Regions from separate parts of the Homo sapiens genome. Here region 2 is linked to region 1. The links are contacts of gene promoters, found by promoter capture Hi-C in blood cells and fetal thymus (Javierre and others, 2016). All regions are on one chromosome and are shown on one strand. The core of a region is centred on a gene start or on the middle of the fragment in contact, and the rest is flanking DNA. Distances in the headings are between cores, read along the strand shown.

The links. The method cuts DNA at HindIII sites, captures the fragments that hold promoters and counts their contacts. A CHiCAGO score of 5 or more calls a contact.
Region 2: a contact is called between a fragment that was not itself captured here and the fragment with the promoter of ENTPD7 in region 1, in 1 of 17 cell types (monocytes). The highest score is 5.7, in monocytes.

The regions. Positions count from the first base shown.
Region 1 is chr10:99,655,760-99,661,253 of GRCh38, reverse strand. ENTPD7 (ectonucleoside triphosphate diphosphohydrolase 7) reads right to left here and starts at 1,745. Exons shown (of 13, transcript NM_020354.5): 1 at 1,666-1,745; 2 at 1,290-1,392. The coding sequence starts at 1,297. It also overlaps a transcript of SLC25A28 not described here. RefSeq lists silencers at 1,517-1,736, 1,857-2,066. The HindIII fragment of the contact is 2,116 bases long and covers 858-2,973 here.
Region 2 is chr10:100,192,592-100,198,414 of GRCh38, reverse strand. It overlaps CHUK (component of inhibitor of nuclear factor kappa B kinase complex), which reads left to right. Exons shown (of 21, transcript NM_001278.5): 17 at 3,894-3,990; 18 at 4,284-4,431; 19 at 4,984-5,117. Among named protein-coding and RNA genes, the nearest start is that of ERLIN1, 9.5 kb to the right of the region's middle. The HindIII fragment of the contact is 6,783 bases long and covers 1,011-5,823 here.

The DNA of each region.
Region 1 (5,494 bases), core at 496-2,995:
TGCCCTTTTTCCAAACTGCACTTTGAGTGCAATTCAAAGACTTAATCTCATGTTAGTGAAAAGATCACCAGTCTCCCTGGGCAACCTCATAACATTGGAGAATCAGAGCAACTACAGTATTCCCAACCAAGAATTCTGTCAAGAAACAGGATGGTCAGAAAATTTATTTAACTGATTTTAAAAATGTTTTACCAGATTATACAAGCACATAGTAAAAGACAAATCAGTTTAAAAGGATATATTGTATAGTGAAAAGTGATTCTTGCCCTGACCCCACAATCTCTCAGAGGCAAACATTACTACCCAGTTGCTGTGTAATTTTTTTTTTTTTTGAGATGGAGTCTTGCTCTGTTGCCCAGGCTGGAGTGTAGTAGCGCAATCTCAGCTCACTGCAACCTCCACCTCCTGGGTTCAAGCGATTCTTCTCCCTCAGCCTCCCCAGTAGCTGGGATTACAGGTGACTGCCACCACACCCGGCTAATTTTCGTATTTTTAGTAGAGACCGGGTTTCTACTTGGCCAGGCTGGTCCTGAACTCCTGACCTCAGGTGATCTGCCTGCCTTGGCCTCCCAAAGTGCTGGGATTACAGGCGTGAGCTACTGCACCTGGCCGTTGCTGTGTATCTTTCCAGGGATATTCTACGGATACACAAGCATAAATATACACCAATATATTTACAGTAATATATCTCTGTGTGTGTGTGTGTGTGTGTGTGTGTGTGTGTGTGCGTATCCATTCCCTCGGTTTTACACAAATGGTAGTCCACCATACCTGCTGTTCTGCATCTTTCCCCCACTTTATTTTATAACTTTCCCTTATTGGTGCATGTAGATCCACATTAATATTTTTTAAAAGCTTCAGGTTATTATAATGTATGGATAAGTGTATTCATCTGTGAAGTTCACTTTGTATATTGATTCAAAAGGACCTCGGTCTGTCTGCTTTTAAAGTTCACTGCAAACAAAAAACAAAAAAACTTCTTTGTTTAACCTCCTCAAGTGGCACCTAGCCTTGCTCAGATGCGAATCTGAATCAATGTTACAACCTTGCACTTTACAGAGCTGAGCAAGCCGACTCACTCTACCACTCCTGGTCTATGGGCTAGAAACTATTATTTATCAGCCCTCGAAATAATACAACTTTGATCGTCTCTGCATCCAACTAACCAGAATACAAAGTCCAAGTGCAGCTCCAGGGCAAACCTCACTTGGGACAGCCTCCCAGGGCCCCCCAACCTGCCTGCCATCCTCTGCCGTGCTCCCAGCCGGAGGGAAAGTGTGCAGCCTTACCTAGCCATGGGTTCCCTTCGGTGGTCTCAACGCCTGTCACCTTCTTTTTCTTTTGCCCTGAGAAGGTGGCCTCCTTGTCCCAGGCATCTCCTACGTCTGCAGCCTAGAAAGATTTGATTTCAGGCTTCTGTCCGACTGAGCCCACGAGACAAACCTGCACGGGAATTCCACGGCTCCCACCTCCTCCCCAGGCTCCCGCTCCGTCTGCTCTGGTTCCTCAGGCCCAGGGGACCCTACCCGGGCATCCTGGGAGCGGGGCGTTCTCGTGGGCCAGCTCTGTCCTCTAGGAACCGGTCGTCCCCAGGTGGCGGGGTGTGGGTCCCGCTTCCTCTCCCCGTCCCTCCGGGTCCCACAGCCCTCTCGCGCCCACACTCACGGGATCAAGCGGCCCGCCGGTTCCTTCGGCACCTCTCGGTTCAGTCCCGAGCTGCTCCCCGCGGCCCCTTGCCCAGCCGGAAGGAGGGCCCGGCCGGCGGCGGCGCCACGTCCCCAAGGAAACCGCAGGGAGCCAATGACTGACAGAAGACTCACGGAGGGGCCGGCTCTCCACGAGCCGAACCGGGGGCGAACCAGCTCGGTCAGCAGCACGTCCGTCCGCCAGGGTGGCCAATCCCCTAGAGCGCTCGGCCTCTGATGCCCGCCCCGGGACTTTGAGCCGCGCCCAATCGGAAAGGCGTCGTACCGAGGCTCCGCCTGCAGGGCCCGCGGAGAGCTCACAGGTGAGTGGCGCTGGGCGGCCCTGTGCCCGCTTCCCTCCCTGGGGCGCGAACTCTCGGCTGGTTGCTTTCTCCACGGCCGCTCCTGGGACAGAGTAGCTCCGGTAGGTGGGTTCAGGGTGTTCGCGACCGAAGCGCATCCCTTGCCCATAACCTATTGTTGGTTTTGTGCCCACTGACCCTCCCTACCAGAATGGCAGTTCTCTCACCTTAAACCTTCCCTATCACCTCCCAAACTGATGCCCCGACCTCACTGTCTTGCCCCGTGAGAAAACAGAAATCGAAGACAATGACGTTTACACCAAAGTGCTTATGTCCATTCATTCATTCATTGAATGTCTGCTTATGCCAGTCATCATGAATTTCTGTGTCGCCGCCCTCCTTGACCTTACAGTAACACAAAGGAAACGACGCGCGCGCGTGGGTGTGTGTGTGTTTCTTTCTTGCTTACACCAGCCGTTATCTCATTTCCAGGAGGACGGCATAAAGTCCAAGCTCTTTCCAACGTGGCACATCCATTGCGCCCCACGATCCGCCCTACCGCCGTCCTCTGCCGCTACTTGCCTTCCTTACCACGCTCCAGCAACGCGTCCTGTTTTGCTCATTCTGCCCCTCCACCTGCCTTGAATAACCGTCCCAGCCTCTTAGCCAAATCACCTCCTACTCATCCCTTACCACCCATCTTAAGGGTCGCCTTCCCCTAAAAGCCCTACTTGACCTACTACACCTTTTTTATACATGCCTATTGTTTCACTTAGCACGTTGAATTACTATTATACGTATATGTCTGTCTGTCTGTCCCACTAGACAGAATATCCTTGAAGGCAGGGACTATTTGCTTCCACATATTCCCAATACTGGCCACTGCCTGGCAGATAAAACACAACTAATGTATAATTAATAAGCAAATGAATGAATGGGGGGGATCGGGGAGGAAGACCACCCAAATGCTTTATTTATTCAAAGCTTACTATGACAAGGGAGTCAGTCACCATCACTTGCATTTGGCCGACTCAAAGCCTGTCAGGACATTAGGAAAACTACTTACTTACTTAATTACCTACAGGGTCTCACTCTGTTGTCATCCAGGCTGGAGTGCAGTGGTGCGATCGTGGTTCACTGCAGCCTCGACCTCCTGAGCAAGCGATCCTCCCACCTCAACCTCCTGAGTAGCTGGCTCTACAGGCACGTGCCACCATGCCCAGCTTATTTTTTTTTAATTCTTTGTAGAGATGGAGTCTCACTATGTTGTCCAGGCTGGTCTTGAACTCCTGGGCTCAAGCAGTCTTCCTGTCTCAGCCTCCCAAAGTGCTGGGATTACAGGGATGAGCAGCTGCACCTGGCCAGGAAAGCTTAGTAGTGAACAAAAAGGGAAGGTTTCATGTATACTCTGACTTGAGGGTATTAGCATGGGAAAGCTGGAGGTGGGCTAACAAAAGTAGTGTCTCTTAGGTGATTGGTTTGGGGTAGGTAGCATATTTGGCTGTCTTTAGTGGGTTCTGAGTTGAAGAAAGGAGGCGGCAAAAAACAGGGAAACTGAGTCATTGACCAAGTCCTGATTATTCTCGGCTGGTTGCTGTAGAGGTTGTGGGTCAGAGTTCTAATTGTCATATAAGATCTAGCCATTGTCCAGTTTCTATATTCAGTTCTCATGACTATTGTTTTTTTGGCTCCACTACTCTCCTAACCTTGTTGAACTTCCTAATTTGCCTTTCTTCTTCAATTCTCAGTTCTCAGTTTTTTTTTCTCTGTCCCTCAATCCCCACTCTGCTTCAAGTGTTATATTTTATCTGGACCCCCAGAAACCACATTGAATAGAATAGTTGCATAAAGTTGGGATTAACCACAACATTATACAGATACCAGTTATTTTTATTATTTCAGAACCCAGTTCAGTTCCTAGAACAAAATAGATATGGAAAGAACTAAAATAATGTTTTGGAGTAATTTTTAAAAATTTCTTGAATTTACCTTCTGTGAGTTCTAAGTCTAATCTCTATACATATATATTTCAAACTTTAGTGTTCCACAAAATAGGTGTTTTTGAGTGGAAGTATAATTCCTATTTTTAAAATAGTACTTAATTCCTATGGTTTATGAACTATATTAACTTATAATTCAAAAGTTCATTGAAACATCCTCTAATTTACATTTCATAACTACATCATAAAACAGAAAAGACCTACATTTTAATCCCAACATTTTTTCATTATATTTTCTTTGTAAAACTTTCTTTGTCAGTCTGGTTTGGACAATACTTCCTTCAATAAATCCATATGCCCTCAAGCATTTGTCAAGCATAATTCTTTACAAAAACCAGCAATGCTTATCTGGTTAACAGCTCATAGGGCTGAGTTCCGAGGTTTCCAGTCAGCAGGGCAAATTAAAAAGCACTGAGAGTATTTCTCTATTTCATTTGCTGTAACTCAACATGTTGCAACAAGTTATAGAAACCTATGTTTCAAAACAGGTTTTTAACTGCTCTTTAAAGGCTTGCCTTACAATTACATTTGCAATTTTTCTCCAGATGTGCTTGATGCCCAGCCCTGAGCAAAATCAGCCCAACAGGTCCCATATTAGGTGCTAGTTGTTTGCTTTGCTTCATTTCCCCTTGTGGATTCTCCTTCCCTCCACACTCCATCCCACCCTACCCTCTAAAGGAATTTGGAGGAGTGTCATGTGGTCTACACTCTCCCTTCCAAGTTTACCCATCTCTCTTCACCTGTCTTTCAGGCACCCCATTGTCCCAAATAAACTCATTATCTCTCCACTCTCATCATATCCACCCAAACCTCCTCCATCCATATTCTCCATCTTGACAAAATACCCTGTGATTCACCAGAGCAGGAACCTGTATGGGAGTCATCCTAGAATATCTTCCTTCTAACTTTCTTTCTCCCTTTCCATCCAATGAGTCACTAGGGGTGCTTAATTCAACTGCCTAAAATCCTCTCCAAGATCTTCTAATGAAGCCTTCCAACTGGTGGCCCTGCCCCCAGACCCATGCCCCTCCTGAGTGCCCCTTGATTCTGTTACCATTGGGAAACCTCATCATGCTACTTCCTGATCTAAAATCCTTCACTAGTTCCTTATTTTTTTTTAGCCCATCTTGTGGTCCCATAGTAGTTTCTTATTCTGACGAGATATAGTCCAAATTCCTAAGCATGGTGTGGCAGATCCCACTGACAGCCTATTCCAGAAGTACCTTCTTCCAGAAGTTCCTTATTATTTTTTTAGCCCATCCTGTGATCCCATAGTAGTTTCTTATTCCAATGAGATATGGTCCAAATTCCTTAGCATGGCGTGGGAGATCCCGCTGATAGCCTATTCTAGAAGTAGGCTCTCTCTTCTACCTTGTTAGCTTGACAAGTAACCACACTGAATATGCTTGGCCATGTGCTTGAAGGGTGCTAGGCTCCAACCTCAGTCCCAGGAGATAAATTGTGATTGTCTAAGTCAATCATGGTGGGCCCATACCCTCACAAAATA
Region 2 (5,823 bases), core at 3,153-5,652, 530 kb before region 1:
TCACTTACAAATGTCCTTGATAAAGCAGTAAAAATATTATTTTATTTAAATCTCAACGCTTGAGTATGGGTTTTTAATATTTTGTGTGATGAAATGGGAAGTACTCATAAAGTGTTTCTTCTATACAGTGAAGTATGATGGTTGTCTTAAGGAAAACCACTTCAGTAATTGTTTACGTTGCTAGTTGTCTGGCCTCTTTCAGGGAAGATACCATTTTTACTTGGAAGAGCAACTGTCAGGCAAACTATGATTATTCAGATTTGCATACGTGAGATAATTTCTAAGAAATTAAATGAAAATAAAAAGTATAGCACACTTATTACTTTAAGGGAAAAAAGCAGTATTTGTTGTCAATGATAAAATTCCATGTTTCAAGCAAAAAGAATTTTAGAAAACTTGTATTTACCAGCTGGAATGACAGCTTCTCAGTACTTAAAAACTTTTCTGATGAGATTAGTGGTGATATCAGAAAGGTTTGCAAAAATGTAAAACAGTGCAAGTGTTCTCACTCAAATTTTTTTGTTTTAGAAAATATCGTTTTTTGGTTTTTGTTTTTAGAGGTGGGCTCTTGCTATGTTGACCAGGCTGGCCTTGGACTCCCTGGGTTCAAGTGATCCTTCCACTTCAGGCTTCCAAGTATCTCAAGTAGCAGTAACCAGTGAAAGGAGGTGGCTCTCGTAGATATGAGTATACTGTGTAGACACATGTATGTATAGCACTTAGCATGTCTGAGGAAATGCAGTATGACTGGAGTGTAGAGTTTCAGGAGAGAGAAAACCTAAATATAGGAGAGAGAGAAAACGTAAATATAGGTTTTTTTGTTTGTTTTTAATAAAAACATGTTAATGGGCAATAGGTTTGTTATTTTTAAATGAATTAAGACACGAGTATTTTTAAATTTCTGTTTAATTCCTGAAAAACCCTTTGGGGTTCTCAAGAATTTTCTAGTGTAAAGGGGTCCTGAGACCAAAAAGTTTGAGAACTGCTTATCTAGACTATTCTCAGAAGCTTGGCTGCTCAGGAAAGAAGAGAGGTGGGTGAGTAGCTAAAAGTTGATGTAGAGTCAAGGGAGGTCACTTCTCAGAAGGAAGACTTAAACATGAGGTGCCACATGATGATGTTTTGGTTAACAACAAATTGTGTATACTATGGTAGTCCCATAAGATTATACTACTGTATTTTTACTATGTATTTTCTATGTTTACATGCACAAATACTTACCATTGTGTTACAGTTGCCTACAGTATTCAGTACAGTCACTTGCTGAACAGGTATGTAGCCTATTGTCAAAAGGCTATACCATACAGCTTAAGTGTATAGCAGGCTGTACCATCAGGGTTTGTATAAGTATTCACACAGTGACGAAAGTGCCCAATGATGCACTTCTCAGAACATATGCTCAGGGCCAAAAAAGCCTGTGGAGAGGGAGGTCCCTGAACAAGTTGAGAGATTGGCTCCAAAGAACAGTAGGAGGGATTAGCCTTGATACTATTGATATTGGAAAGAGAATGAGTGTGGATACAGATACTTTTTTGGGAGTAGAGGTTGGAAGATCAGGGTCTTACTGCCTTATGGCCTCTTATCCTGCAGTGGTAAGTGAGGTTAACTGAAATGGAAGAGGTGACGACCTCATAGATTTGAATAGAGTGCTAAAGACTTCTAAAAGCCACTGTGTGCAGTGGAAGATGTTGTTGACCCAAAACATTCATTAAGAATCCAGGCCAGGTGGCTCATACCTGTGATACTAGCGCTTTGGGAGGCTGAGACAGGAGGATCGTTTGAGGCCAACAGTTTGAGACCAGTCTGGGCAACATAGTGAGACCCTGTCTCTACAAAAAAATAAATCAATAAAATTTTTAAAAAGCTGGGTGTGGTAGTGTATGCCTGTAGTCCCAGCTACTCAGGAGGCTGAAGTAGCAGGATCGCTTGAGGCCCAGGAGGTCGAGGCTGCAGTGAGCCAAGATTACACTACTGCACTTCAGCCTGGGTTGACAGAGCAAGACTTTCTTAAAAAAAAAAAAAAAAAAAACCCAGAGCAGAAATGAAAAACCTGTGAATTAGCAGTGACAAATAGTGAACAGTAATATTAATTTTTTGTTGATAATTTAGTAGCTTGGATACAGGAACTGATAGAGCAGATGGTTGGATTAATCCAAGGTTAGGATTTTGCTGATGGAATAAGAGGATAAAAAGGTTGAAGATGTTAACAAATAGTGATTTAAGTGATAGAAGTTGTAGCTAGAGTAAAATATTAAAATCTAAGATTTCAAATAGAGCAAGTCCAATTCTTTTTCTTTAATCAATATTTCTGGGCCAGGCGTCGTGGCACATGCCTGTAATCCCAGCCACTTTGGAGGCTGAGGCAGGAGAATTGCTTGAACCAGGGAGGCAGAGGTTGCAGTGAACCAAGACTGTGCCACTGCACTCTAGCCTGGGTGACAGAGCTAGACTCCATTTCAAAAAAAAAATTCTGACTCCCAGTTTTCTGGCTAATGAATCAGATACCACAGATACACAGTGATAGCATTTGTTTAGGTTATATTTTTTAAAACTTTGAGGCAGCCCTGTCAACATACCATGAAGCTCAGAAATAAACTGCTACCCAGGTAGCTTCTTTGAGTGTCACCTTGAGTGACAAACTGTAACAAGATTGTGTCTGTCATTGGGGCCTATTATATAATCACACTTGATTTGTGGCCTCTATTGTCTTTTCTAGCTTAGAGTTGACTTGAATCTCTTGTTCATCTGAAATGGTTAAAACCAGCTTTCTTCATTATCCTGGAGAAGGCTAAAGTTCTGAGGGCTTTCACTGTCTTAAGGAGCTAGTTATATGAGAAAGCTCTTGGCTTGGTCCATGGTATTTAGGAAGGAATGCTGTTTGGAGAAGAACCTTTTTGGAGCCTTGCATTTGATTGTTGGTGAGGAGGAGACAACAGAGATGTGTGGGGAATAAAGTTGGGCTATGGGGGAAGTATTTGGAGTGATAGATAACAAAGGACACAACGTTTTTTAAACCTCCTTTGATGCTCATCATTTCCTTTTTGGTAAAATGGGGGTAACAAAAGTAGTCTTCTCACATGACTGCTGTGAGGATTAAATGGGAAAATTATAAGCAGAGAGTAGCAAATATTATTATTATTGCATTTAGGCTTAATTATTGTCCAAAGAATATACCAGCATGATGCATAAGCAACTTTCAACTCCTTTAGCCATTTTCTGAAATATAACAATTAATGATTTTTTTTTAAAATCGAGGTCACATTTTAAACTGTAGAACCCATTGTGACCAACAGCCATCCCATTTGAGGGTATCTGGCTGCTGCCAGTTGGCTTTAAGATGTCATACTGCCCTCAAATGGAACTTTCAGGATGTCTACAGGTCCCTTTACTAGTTGGTTTCAATGAGCTTTTTTCAAAGTTTTTCTGGGTTGTAAACAGACGGATAAACATGAAATTCCAAGCAACCTAGTTCAAGGGCCTCCTTCCTTTAGGTAATGAAAGTTTGATGAATTGTCCTACTGTTTCTAAATATGTGGTTAATCATCCAAGAAAAATTGTTCCCTTGGCCAGAGGCTGCATTTGTGTCTAGGGCTTGGGTTAGTATGGGTTAAAGATAGCCAAGACTATTGTTCTCAAGCACAGGCAACTAAGGTCTCTTACTGATAAATTTATATATACATTATACACCTGCAAACTTTATTTTTTATATATAACTAGATTTTATTTATAGGTAATCTTTATATCTTTTATCTTAACCCAATTTTTAATTTAAATGGAGATGTTTATTAATTAAAATTAGTTTCAGAGTTTCAGGGATTTTTGAGGAATTTTTTGTTTGGAGGCTGATATGTTACAGAAGAAAGGTTATATCCACTGACTGATGTCTTTTATAGATCACTCCTACAGTGACAGCACAGAGATGGTGAAAATCATTGTGCACACTGTGCAGAGTCAGGACCGTGTGCTCAAGGAGCTGTTTGGTCATTTGAGGTAGGAAAATTGCTTCATTTCCTACTGAAAAACCAGGATACGTTTATCTTGTTCCTCTCAAAGTACAAAAGCCCTCTTTGGTAAAGTATACTTACCCAGGAAGAATTCTGAAGGTACCTTGGGTAGCTTGGCCATAGCTATCTGCATTTATGTGTCCTTTTGTATGCATTACTTTGGAGATAAGTCATTAAATCTGATGCTGATTGTGGTTCATTTCCTCAGCTGGGTTTTGGGAATATGGTGTACAGTCTTGGGGCATGTGAAAGTGTCTGACACTGATTTAATCTCTCCAGCAAGTTGTTGGGCTGTAAGCAGAAGATTATTGATCTACTCCCTAAGGTGGAAGTGGCCCTCAGTAATATCAAAGAAGCTGACAATACTGTCATGTTCATGCAGGGAAAAAGGCAGAAAGAAATATGGCATCTCCTTAAAATTGCCTGTGTAAGTAATTATTAATGAATTATTTAATGTGACATTGAGTTGCTATTATTCCTTGCAAAGGGGATTTTTATCAGCATGAGGTGGGCCCTCTTGAAGACATGTATATTTTGCATTGGGATGACATCCATGTTCCTTGCTTGGTGTCCAGACTAGCAATTGAGATGCAGGACTTATTATCATCTCTCCTTTCCAATTTCTCTGTTGTTATACTCCTCTTAGCCCTTGACTACTGTGGTATTCCAACCTAACTTGGGGATAGATGTACCTGCCTAGATAATGAAATTGACCATCTATTCAACTGGGTTTTTTTTTTCTTTCTTCAACTAAAATGGTATAAGATGAGTGGATATATTTGGTTTTAGTCAATGAAGAAAGGGTCCAAGGACAGGTTACTAATGGTGTGTAAAGGTGGGAATAGTTTTGTACTGAAATACTCTGGTTGTGCATATAAGTAGTAACGGAAATGTAAGTCTTAGGAATATGATAAGAAATTGTGTGAATCAACAGAGATGCTTGCCTGTAATCTTTTGATGTTTTTTTCTTTTCCTTCAGACACAGAGTTCTGCCCGGTCCCTTGTAGGATCCAGTCTAGAAGGTGCAGTAACCCCTCAGACATCAGCATGGCTGCCCCCGACTTCAGCAGAACATGATCATTCTCTGTCATGTGTGGTAACTCCTCAAGATGGGTGGGTTTACTTTGTAACAATAGATAGCTGTGTTTTCATAGCAGTGGTATAGGAATGAGGCAGTAGTTGTTAAGGTAGTCTTCTGTGCCTTCAGACCAGGGTTGAGTCCTGACTATCCCTTTGTAATAATCTTAGGCAACTTACTTGACTTTTTTGATGTTCATATTTCCTCACCTGTAAAACAGGAATGTCTCATAGAACTGCTGTGGAAATTTGATTAGACAATGTATATAAAGTGCTTGGGAAATAAATGTTCAGCAAATGTTGCGTATTATTAGCTCAAATGTTGCTTATTATTAGCTAAGTCCAAGTTCTAAGTCCTTTCTTTTATTGGCTTATTACTTTCTTTTACTCAAACCTTACTCCTTCATTAACAGTTTATGAGAAATTATGCTATCATTTTGCATTTATCATTTTGGGGATCCTTGATTACCCTTCTAATAAATTTTTGAGATCTATTTTATAACTTTGTATTTCTAAGATTAGACTTTTTTCAGTGTTTTAAATCAGTTTTGCAAGAACTCAGATTCCAAGCCCTATATTTTATTAATTCCTACTCTTTTGCTAAAAGCTGAATGACTATCCATTTCTGTTATTTTCTCAGCTTAAGATGTGCCGTATCCAAAGCCAGTGGCTCTTTGCTAGCTTGTGTATTGTCGCTTTTCTCACAACTCATGGAGACCTCTACAGCACCAGCATTTCCTGG